Linked DNA regions of Homo sapiens: regions 1 and 3 are each linked to region 2. The links are contacts of gene promoters, found by promoter capture Hi-C in blood cells and fetal thymus (Javierre and others, 2016). All regions are on one chromosome and are shown on one strand. Each heading gives the region's core, a stretch centred on a gene start or on the middle of the fragment in contact. The rest is flanking DNA. Distances are from core to core; before and after follow the strand shown.

What was found. Contacts are between HindIII fragments. The CHiCAGO score rates a contact against its expected background, and 5 or more counts as called.
Region 1: a contact is called between a fragment that was not itself captured here and the fragment with the promoter of SAG in region 2, in 1 of 17 cell types (monocytes). The highest score is 5.3, in monocytes.
Region 3: a fragment that was not itself captured here is called in contact with the fragment with the promoter of SAG in region 2 in 2 of 17 cell types (monocytes and total B cells); the score reaches 5.8 in monocytes.

The regions. Positions count from the first base shown.
Region 1 is chr2:232,726,967-232,730,310 of GRCh38, reverse strand. The region is part of intron 2 of GIGYF2 (GRB10 interacting GYF protein 2); the gene reads right to left. It also overlaps the pseudogene EEF1B2P7. Among named protein-coding and RNA genes, the nearest start is that of GIGYF2, 31 kb to the right of the region's middle. The HindIII fragment of the contact is 1,550 bases long and covers 824-2,373 here.
Region 2 is chr2:233,306,243-233,309,542 of GRCh38, reverse strand. It overlaps SAG (S-antigen visual arrestin), which reads right to left and starts at 1,727. Exons shown (of 16, transcript NM_000541.5): 1 at 1,521-1,727; 2 at 279-381. The coding sequence starts at 353. The HindIII fragment of the contact is 2,146 bases long and covers 610-2,755 here.
Region 3 is chr2:232,789,705-232,793,151 of GRCh38, reverse strand. GIGYF2 (GRB10 interacting GYF protein 2) reads right to left here. Exons shown (of 29, transcript NM_001103146.3): 10 at 2,237-2,454; 11 at 1,982-2,144; 12 at 1,706-1,894. Among named protein-coding and RNA genes, the nearest start is that of KCNJ13, 15 kb to the right of the region's middle. The HindIII fragment of the contact is 1,422 bases long and covers 1,265-2,686 here.

The DNA of each region.
Region 1 (3,344 bases), core at 349-2,848, 580 kb after region 2:
ATTTCTGAAGAACTCTTAAAAACCTAAGAATATTTTTTTCCTCTTTCAGCACAGGGTGCCCACAACTTGAGCTCTTTCTGCTGCTCCTCAGCTCTCAGGTACAGCTGATGCCATGGATTTCAGAGACCTGAAAAGCCCTGCCGGCCTCCAGGTGCTCAACAATTACCTGGCGGACAAGAGCTACATCGAGGGGTATGTGCCATCACAAGCAGATGTGGCAGTATTTGAAGCAGCATCTGGCCCACCGCCTGCTGACTTGTGTTATGCCCTTCGTTGGTATAATCACATCAAGTCTTACGAAAAAGAAAAGGCCAGCCTTCCAGGAGTGAAGAAGGCTTTGGTCAAGTATGGTCCTGTGGATATGGAAGACACTATAGGAAGAGGAGCTAAAGATAGTAAAGATGATGATGACATTGATCTCTTTGGAGCTGATGGGAGGAGAAAAGTGAAGAAACGAAGAGGCTAAGGGAAGAACACCTTCCACAATATGAATCGAAGAAAGCCAAAAAACCTGCACTCGTTGCCAAGTCTTCCATCTTATAGATGTGAAACCTTGGGATGATAAGACAGATATGGCAAAATTAGAGGAGTGCATCAGAGGCATTCAAGCAGATGGCTTAGTCTGGGGCTCATCTAAACTAGTTCAAGTGGGATACAGAATTAAGAAACTTCAAATACGTTGTGAAGTTGAAGATGATAAAGTTGGAACAGATAAGCTGGAGAAGCAGATCACTGCTTTTGAAGACTATGTGCAGTCCATGGATGTGGCTGCTTTCAACAAAATCTAAAATCCATCCTGGGTCATGGCATTTAAATAAAAGCTTGAGAGGTTAATTAAAAAAAAAAACCTAAAAATAATAAACCAAGTTATTTAATTATCAAATAAAGAGACCTGCATTACTCAGAACAGTGTTCTGCTCATTCTTCTTTATGATTCAAAGCAGCTTAGGGCAACATTTAAACCCCAGCTATCCAAATGTTTTCAGCTCAAACGCCTAGAAGACTTGTAACCTTTAGAAAACAGCTCTGGAGGCCGGATGCAGTGCCTCACACCTGTAATCTCAGCACTTTGGGAAGCTGAGGCATGCAGATCACTTGAGCTCAGAAGTTCAAGAACAGTCTGGACAACATGACAAAAACCTCATCTCTACACAAAATACAAAAGTTAGTCACGCGTGGTGGTATGCTCCTGCAGTCCAAGCTACTTGGGAGGCTGAGGTGGGAGGACTGCTTGAGCCCAGGAGGTCGAGACTGCAGTGAGCCTTGTTCACACCACTGCCCTCCAGCCTGGGCAACAGAGCCAGACCCAGTAAGGAAAATGAAAAGAAAAAGAGAAGGGAAAGGGAAAAGGAAAGAGAAAAGGAAAAGGAAAAGGAAAAGGAAAGGTCTCTGAGTTTATAAAGCAATTCAGGATTTGAACCAGACTCTGGACACTCTGCTCCATCATGCTATCCTGCCTCTGTAGACTGTTTTTTGTTGAAACTATGACCTCCCTTTTCCTCCATTACCAGCACTATCCTGGTATTTCTTTGCCCATCTTTATTTCCCTCTAAATTACGGAATGGCAAAGAGGGCATGCAGAGAGTAGGGGTGTCATTTTAACAACAGCAATTAAAACATCTGCCCACAAATTTGTAACCGGCCACTAGCTGGGAGAGATGATCCCACCCCTGCAATTAATTACAAATTTGATTTTTTTCTCCCATGACCAATGTGGCATGGGATCACTGACTGATCATATCATCAAGGCACTACTGTTTTCAGTTTACTGGTCAGCCAGTCTCAAAAGCCTAGATCATCTGAAACTCTCTCTACTCCATCCCTTATATCCATTCATTTTGTCTCAAATTTAGCCTACTTCTTCAAGATTCCTCTTTCATTATAGTCCAAACTCTATTAATGCATGTCTGGATTATTCTAACAAAAGTTCTTATTTGCTTCCCTGACTGGGCCTCAAGATCAATTTTCCTAAGGCACCTTTCTGATCATGGCCTACACTCCTCTAAAAAAGTCCAATCGAACCTACTATGTATCGTCAATCTGACAACCCATGCCTCCCTCCCCAACTCAATCTCCTATTGTTTCACCTCCCAACTCAAAGCCAAATGAGAACTTTCTACCGTCCACTGCATTTTCCTTCCTCTTTAGTTGTGCTATGACATACCCTTCCCCCAGAAGCCTGACCTCCCTCCCTTAGAATGGCTCATACAAAACCAAGGATCTATTCAAACACCTACTCCATAAAATAGTTCCCAAAGTAGTAAAAGCACTGCTCCCTCTGGAAGGGAAAATCTAAAACACAGGATACAGAAATGGAATGGAATCTATAGGACTCAATGTTGCGGGTATTTTTCAAATGTGTATTATAAAGCTTAAAAGGAAGCAGAAAACAGAAAAACGAATTTGGGGAGACAGATAACGAGGATGGTTTTGAACAAAGTAAGTGCAAGGTGCTTGACTGAGGAAGTATCCAAAAGACCTAGAGTTGAAGAGTAGTCAGAATAGAAAGACAGATTTAACGGAAGTGAATCCACAGAGTTACAATCAAAAATTGAATAAGGCTACCCCAAAGCAGAAATCTCAAGAAAGAACAGGAACAAAGCCTCAGCAATCACTGTACAGGCTGATACAGGAAGAAAGAGAAAGACCACAGAGGTAGAGATCTCTAGCCCAAACCCTTCACTAAACTCAAATTCACTGACTCTAGTTTTCTCCCCCTGAGGTACTATTCTCACCACATTCTCTGTAACTAAAATAGACCCATATTAACCTCCAAGTTCATAATTACTCTTGCCTCCCCGCTATTCCCATTTCCTGAGGTAAACATGTTAACAGCCTAGTGTGTATCCCTCCATACTTCACATTCAGACAAACATGTTCACATATATGTGGTGGGGAAAGGGGATTAGCTATTTGCTATTATAAAGCAAGAATCATACACTATACCTTATTCTGAGACAGGCAATTCTCTCAATATATTTGCATGGACAAACTTCTAATAAACAGATATAGAGTTAAGTTGCAGTTTTTAAAAGCTGTATGATGGGCCGGGCACAGTGGCTCATGTTGTAATCCCAGAACTTTGGGAGGCCAAGGAAGGTGAATCAAGTTGAGGCCAGGAGTTCAAGACCAGCCTGGCCAATATAGTGAAACCCTGTCTCTACTAAAAATACAAAAAATTAGCTGGGTGTGGTGGTGCACGCCTATAATCCCAGTTACTCAGGAAGCTGAGGCATGAGAATCATTTGATCCCTGGAGGCAGAGGCTACAGTGAGCTGACATCGTGCCACTGCACTCCAGCCTGGGCAACAGAGCAAGACTCTGCGCCCCCAAAAAAAAAGCAA
Region 2 (3,300 bases), core at 478-2,977:
CTCCCAAGTCTGGGATTACAGGTGCCTGCCACCATACCCAGCTAATTTTTGTATTTTTAGTAGAGATGGGTTTTGCCATGTTGGCCAGGCTGGTCTCGAACTCCTGGCCTCAAGTTATCCCGCCTCCGCCTCCCAAAGTGCTGGGATTACAGGCATGAGCCACCGCGCCCTGGCCCTCAAAGAGTTTTGATGTTGATCATGACTACACTGTACTTGAAAAAGCTCCATTTTTTTTAAACAATAATTTCTATCAAATCACTCACTTGTGCACCACTCACCGATTTGTCCCGGGAGATCTTCTTGAAGATAACATGGTTCGGTTCGGACTTGCTGGTCTTCCCGCTGGCTGCCATGTTATCTGTCCCTGGCAACTTCTACCACCTTGGGGTGTTGGTCAGGTGTTAGAGGGTTGGAGAAAGGTAAGACAATCCTAAATATCAAGTCAAGAACATCCTAGTTATGAAACCTACTCACGAGATCCTGTGCGTCCTCACCATGCCCTTGTACCGGCTTCAACATCCGAGTTTCATCGGTGAGTCTTTGCTTAGTTTGTATTTTACTGCAGCATGCTTTGGGGTGTTTTCAATATTTTATTTTTCTTGGTAAGCTTCAAACATTTCTCAGTACACCTTGCCAGGGAGTCTAGCTAGATTCCAATGAGGTTTTACTTTCTGACTAACCTTTGGTGTTATCACACTTAGCCAGGTTGAATTTAAAGTTCTATCGTGACTGTGTCTAATGGCGAATAAATCAGAAAAGTTCCTGAAAACCACAACATAACCACTTCGCAAAGACTGTTTTCAAGAAGATATTAATGGCCGGGCACTGTGGCTCACACCTGTCATCTCAACATTCTGGGAGGCTGAAGCGAGAGGATCATTTGAAACCAGGAGTTGGAGACTGGCCTGGGCAACATAGCAAGATCCTATCACTTTTTTTAAAAAAAAAGAATATATTAAAATCCCAAAAGTTCTATTTGGCAATTCCTACTAAGAGATAGCCACTCTGTTTTACAATTAAGAGGCCATCTTAGCGGTCTAGAATTAAGCATACTCTGAGGTTTTTTTTTTTTTTAAGATATAGGAGCTCGTTCTGTTGCCCAGGCTGGAGGGCAGTGCCACAATCATAGCTCACCGCAGCCTCGAACTCCTGGGCTCGTGATCCTCCTGCCTCAGCCAGCTGAGTAGCCAGGACTACAGGTGTGTGACACCATGCCTAGCTAATTTATTTTTATTTTTGTTTTTTTGTAGAGACTGGGTCTGACTGTATTGCTCAAGTTGGTCTCGAATTCCTGGCTTCAAGTGATCCTCCAGCCTCAGCCTCCTGAGTCACTGGGACTATAGGCATGAGCCATTGCACCCGCTCACTCCAAGTCTCCTTAAATAGCAACCAAGTCTTATGGAAACCACACAGAAAAGGTGAAGGCGGGACATACTGTCTGCAGGAAAACGCCCATCCTTGCTCTTCCCCACACCTGCCCCAGGTTTCTGATAAGGTTTTGGCCTGTGGTGGTCACATACCTTGTGATTTGTCACCAACCAGGTGGGAAGGGCCGGGTGGCAAGGAGAGGGTCTCTATGCTCTGAGATGATGAATAGCCAGCCCCTGTTCTGAGCAAGCTGGTACCGTCTTGCCAGATGAGCCTGAAGGGGCACCGCTGAGGCTCCTGGCCTACGTATGTGGGGAATTTGTAGGGGATCTAGCGAGGATGCCCAGCATCCAGGTCTCAATGTCTAAAAGCCAAATCCCACTTAAGGAGCAGAGTTGGATTAGTGCTGAGACAGTGAACTGGTAGTTTCAGCAGTTCTAAGCATTAAGCAACACCCCCCGCCCCGGTCTCCATACGGAGGGTCTCACAGATGTATGAGTCACCCAGCTGACTTGGGGAAGGTTGGTGGGAGGGCCAACAGCTAAATGAAAGCTACTTTTTCTTCTAAACCTCTTTGGATTCTGGAAATAGACTGATTATCTCTTCATTCCCGGGCATTGCCAGGACAGGAAGAGATTTGATTAAACTCAGCAGGCAGCTAATGCGACCTTGCGGGTGGGGACTAAACAAAAAGGTCAAGGAGAAATGTCAACCTCAAGATGAACCTGGTGTTATGCAAGCCAAGCTGGATCTGTCCCTCTCCTCCACCCGGTCCTACTGATTGATGGCTTCAGGAGTCCTGTTGATCCCCTCAGTGTCTCTGGAACCTGTCTGCATCCTCCCATCCCCAGCACCGCCTTTGCTTCTCAGGACCGGAGTGATTCCCCACTGTCTGACTACATCTATTTCTTTTCTTTTTTTTGTTTTGTTTTTTGTTTTGAGATGGAGTCTTGCTCTGTCTCCCAGGCTGAAGTGCAGTGGTGCAGTCTCAGCTTGCTGAAACTTCTGCCTCCCAGGCTGAAGTGCAGTGGTGCAGTCTCAGCTTGCTGAAACTTCTGCCTCCCAGGTTCAAGTGATTCTCTTGCCTCAGCCTCCAGAGTAGCTGGGACTACAGGCGCCTACCACCACACTGAGCTAATTTTGTATTTTTAGTAGAGACAGGGTTTTACTATGTTGGCCAGGCTGGTCTCGAACTCCTGACCTCAGGTGATCCACCTGCCTCGGCCTCCCAAAGTGCTGGGATTCCAGGAATGAGTCACCGCACCCAGCCGACCACATTTATTTCTACCCTCCAAGCCCTTTTCCACACAGAGGCAGAGAGACCTTCTGAGCCCTGTCATCCCTCGCTTACAATCACCCATTGCTCTTAGAATGCAGGCAAAAAGCTTGCAGCCTCTGGAACCTCTGCCTGCCTTTCCTTCCACGCCGTCTGCCACGCTTCCTCCTTCCCACTATTATTTCTGCCTGGAACAAGCCTCTCCTCTCTCCACTTTGTTGACTCTTCTTGGCCTTTCAGATTTTTGACCAGGAGTCACTTCCTCAGGGGAGCTATCCCCAACCTCCAGGACCAGATTGGAGGCACGCTTGCATTTCACTCTTTTTTTTTTTTGCTTTCGAGATAGAGTCTCACTCTGTTGCCTGGGCTGGAGTGCAGTGGCGCGATCTCGGCTCACTGCAGCCTCCACCTCCTGGGTGCAAGCGATTCTCCTGTCTCAGCCTCCCGAGTAGCTGGGATTACAGTTGTGCACCAGCATGCCCAGCTAATTTTTGTATTTTTAATAGAGATGGGGTTTCGTCATGTTGGCCAGGTTGGTGTCAAACTCCTGGCCTCCTGAAGTGCTGGGATTATAGGCATGAGCTACCGTGCCTGGCCACATTTCACTCTTGCTTGGGAATTATTCTACAGTCTCTCTTCCCTCACTGGAGTCCAGG
Region 3 (3,447 bases), core at 726-3,225, 520 kb after region 2:
CTGCCCAAGCCTGGATCAGTCCCACTTCTTCACTTTAGCTTTCACTGCTCCCTAGTACTGGAATGCCTTCTCCCAATTCATCTATCTACACTTACCTCCAAATTCTACTTATTATTCCAAGATGTGTTCAGAGACCACCTACTTCCTGAAGCATCCCAAGAGTCTGCCAACAGTGAACCCTTATCTTACTTTTTGCCCTAGAATAGTGATATATGCACACTTTATCTCCTCTACACACTATAAATCTGGAGTTTCGACCTTTAATGTACATCTATGAAGCCTTCTCAGAATATATATATCTAGACTTGATCCAAGAATTTCCTGAATAAGGCTTCAAGCACGTACATTCAAAAGAATGTACCACAAGTAGTTCTGGGGCATATCCTACTACAAATCAAACTGCCTCAAAGATATATCAGTCTCACAGTGCCTGCTATGTAGAGCACAGATTCAAATACTTGCTGAGCTAACCAGGAAGCTAAGGGCAGGAGGATCACTTGAGCCCAGGAGTTCGGATCCAGCCTGAACAACATAGTGAGGCCCTGTCTCATTTTTGTTGTTGTTTTGTTTTTAGAGACAGGGGTCTTGCTATTGCTATGTTGTCCACACTGTTCTCAAACTCCTGGGCTCAAGTGATCTCCCCCATTTCAGCTTCCCGAGTAGCTGGGATTACAAGCACGTGCCATCACACCCAGTTAATCCCATCTCTTTAAAAAAATAATCAGCTTTGTTCTAGACATTTAAAAAATTGAAAAATTCCTGGGTTTGAGCTCTCAAAATATTAGTCTACTGGGAAAACAAGGTAATAAACATCTTTATGATATTATAATGCTATGTTAGAAATAAGCCTGGTTGTTTAAGAAACGAAGAAGACACCTACCCTAGTTTGGGGGCTTTGGGTGGAAGAGAGTTTCAAGAACAGAGAAAAGGATGTGCTAAGGTACGAATCCTAGAAAACAGGAGACAGTTCAGGACCTAAAAGGCTTTGAGGCTGGTAAGTAGAACGTGAGGGAAGTAAAGAGGCTGGCAATGAAACTGCACAAAGGGAAGCAGATGCCAGATTGTGCAGTGTCTCATATGCCATGTTAAAGGGTATCAATTTTTATGGTAAATGAATCAAGTAACCCTTCAACGTCAGGCATTACAATGACATTTTTAAATACGTACAAGAAGAAACATGGAAATGAGCATTAATATTGCCTAATAAAGTGTATGAGCAACTTAAACCAATACACTAACAACTGAAAGAGATATGTTTTAAGCTTATTCTGCCACAGATTCACATATGTTCTCTACTTGTCCTCTTTTAGAAAAATGGCATTTTGGTGTGTCATCTGGTAATTTAAGCTGGGCACATAATTAGTCAACACATGAAAGGAAGGTAACTGTCTAATACGGGAATCAAACTAATGCAAAGGCTATGACACCCAGTTCACCAGTAATGACAGGGTGGCTATGTCATAACACCTTAGGACATGAGATTCCAGAGCTCCACCCTTGCAGATTCGAACTCTGTTTTGGTAATTCTGAGATGGACACATACGTGAGAAGCACTGTTTGACTGGGTTTACTGGTAAAATAATCTATTCCGATAATTCACCCACTAAAAGCAGTTCTAGGAGGCATAAGCAGAAGCCTAACTTATCAGTGATCACTGGCCTCAGCAGAATCCTATTTTAGCTTGTCTATTCCCACAAATACATACCATCCCCTCTGCTGGGCACTTTGGCTGGTAGACTATTTTCCATCCGAGTCTCCTCTTCAGCTTTTTCCGTTTGCTCAGTTTTTGGTTCATCTTTCCTCTCAAACTGTGATGCTTCCTGAGACTGATGGTCTGAAGGAGTACCTGGTCTAGCAGATGATGATGAGGTCTGGGGAGTTTCCTCACTAGCTTCTGGAACACGAAGTAATCTTAGTTGAACTTACGAAAGTTTTGGTTTGATGGAGGAAAAAAAAGGCAAAGGGCAAGAAGAGGCCTTACCAACTCCTACTCTATCTGTTTTCTCTCCTTCTTTCTTATTTGTCTTATCGGGTTCTTTGGCCTCTTCATTATGGCTACCCTCAGAGTCAGAGCACTCCTCCCCTTCGTCCACAGGCCGGAAGTCCATCTCCTGCTCTTCTGGAATAGGCTCTTTCTGTACTTTCTGTAGAAAGAGAATAAAACCAAAGATCAACAGCAGATTTGGCTTTGGTATAAGGTTAATGCTGGTCATGACATTTAAAACACGTTTCTTACTTTTAGAGAAAGGAATGCTCCAGATGAGTCAAATGTACCCATTTCTTCTTCAGCATCCTCTAAGCACCATTCGGGCAAGCTATCCCTGTCATCATCTATGCTCCCACTGCCAGAGCGAACCCTTCGGTAACCCCGTTCATCATCTCTATCTCGAAAATCAAACTCAAACCTCCGACGTCGTTCCATGTGTTCCCGCCAGCCTGCAGAACGAGGGCCATCTGAGATGAGAAGGAGGACACAAACCTTAGAAAAGTTTTATGACAGTATTTGAATAAGAAAATCAGGAATAGAAAATAAAGGAGAAAACTACAAGTGACCGCAAACTCAAATGGACTGACCTAGTAAAGAGAACATTAGGCAACTAAATGAAGTTCAGAGTTCAGAGTATATGTACCATTACGAGATGACAACAGTACTTAAGTACTGAGCCAGGCAACATACTCTAAAGCTTTAAAAGATAAATCTAAAATGCAGTACATTTAAAGGACACTGTATTCCAAGTACGCACTTTCAGTAAGTCCTAGGTACTTGATTAAAATACTGATTAGCCGCCAACTCCTCATCCAGACTTAATGCACTAGACATCCTTCCATACTGAAGTTTACACCTTCCTTTTGCCCAATCTTAAAGCATTTTCTTTCTTCCCATGAAAATATCATTGTTTGTGGATAAAATCAGCTCCCTGTGTTGACTTATATCAAACTCATCATGACTATTTATTAATGCCAGGTTCCCACTTGTAATTCTGATCCTCCCCCAAAAATTCACAAAATTACAGTGCTGAAAGTTGTCACAGAGATTTTATGAAGTTCACTATCCTAATTTTATAGTTTAAGAAGAAACTAAAACTTTGCCAGCAGAAGTAACTCGCACATGGCAAAGTAGAACTAAAATCCAATTCTGCACCCTCTGCTGCTTGTTCCACAATAACATACTTACTCCTCTCCCTTCTTTCTCATCTCTTAATTCTCCCTATCCATATAATACCCCTACGGACATTCCCAAATCTACATTTCCCAACAGAAGAAAAGATTGCCTAATAATAAGAGATCCTACTTAAGATATTTTTCTAAAAAAAAGAAAGGGAAACTCTTGCTAAAATCTGACAGACCTGAGTCTAAAAGAGTCTTAAAAAGAAAAGCAGGCTTTAACCTATTAGAATTTTCCATCCTTGACTGCTTTCTCTGTGGGGGATAAGAAAAAGAAATGTG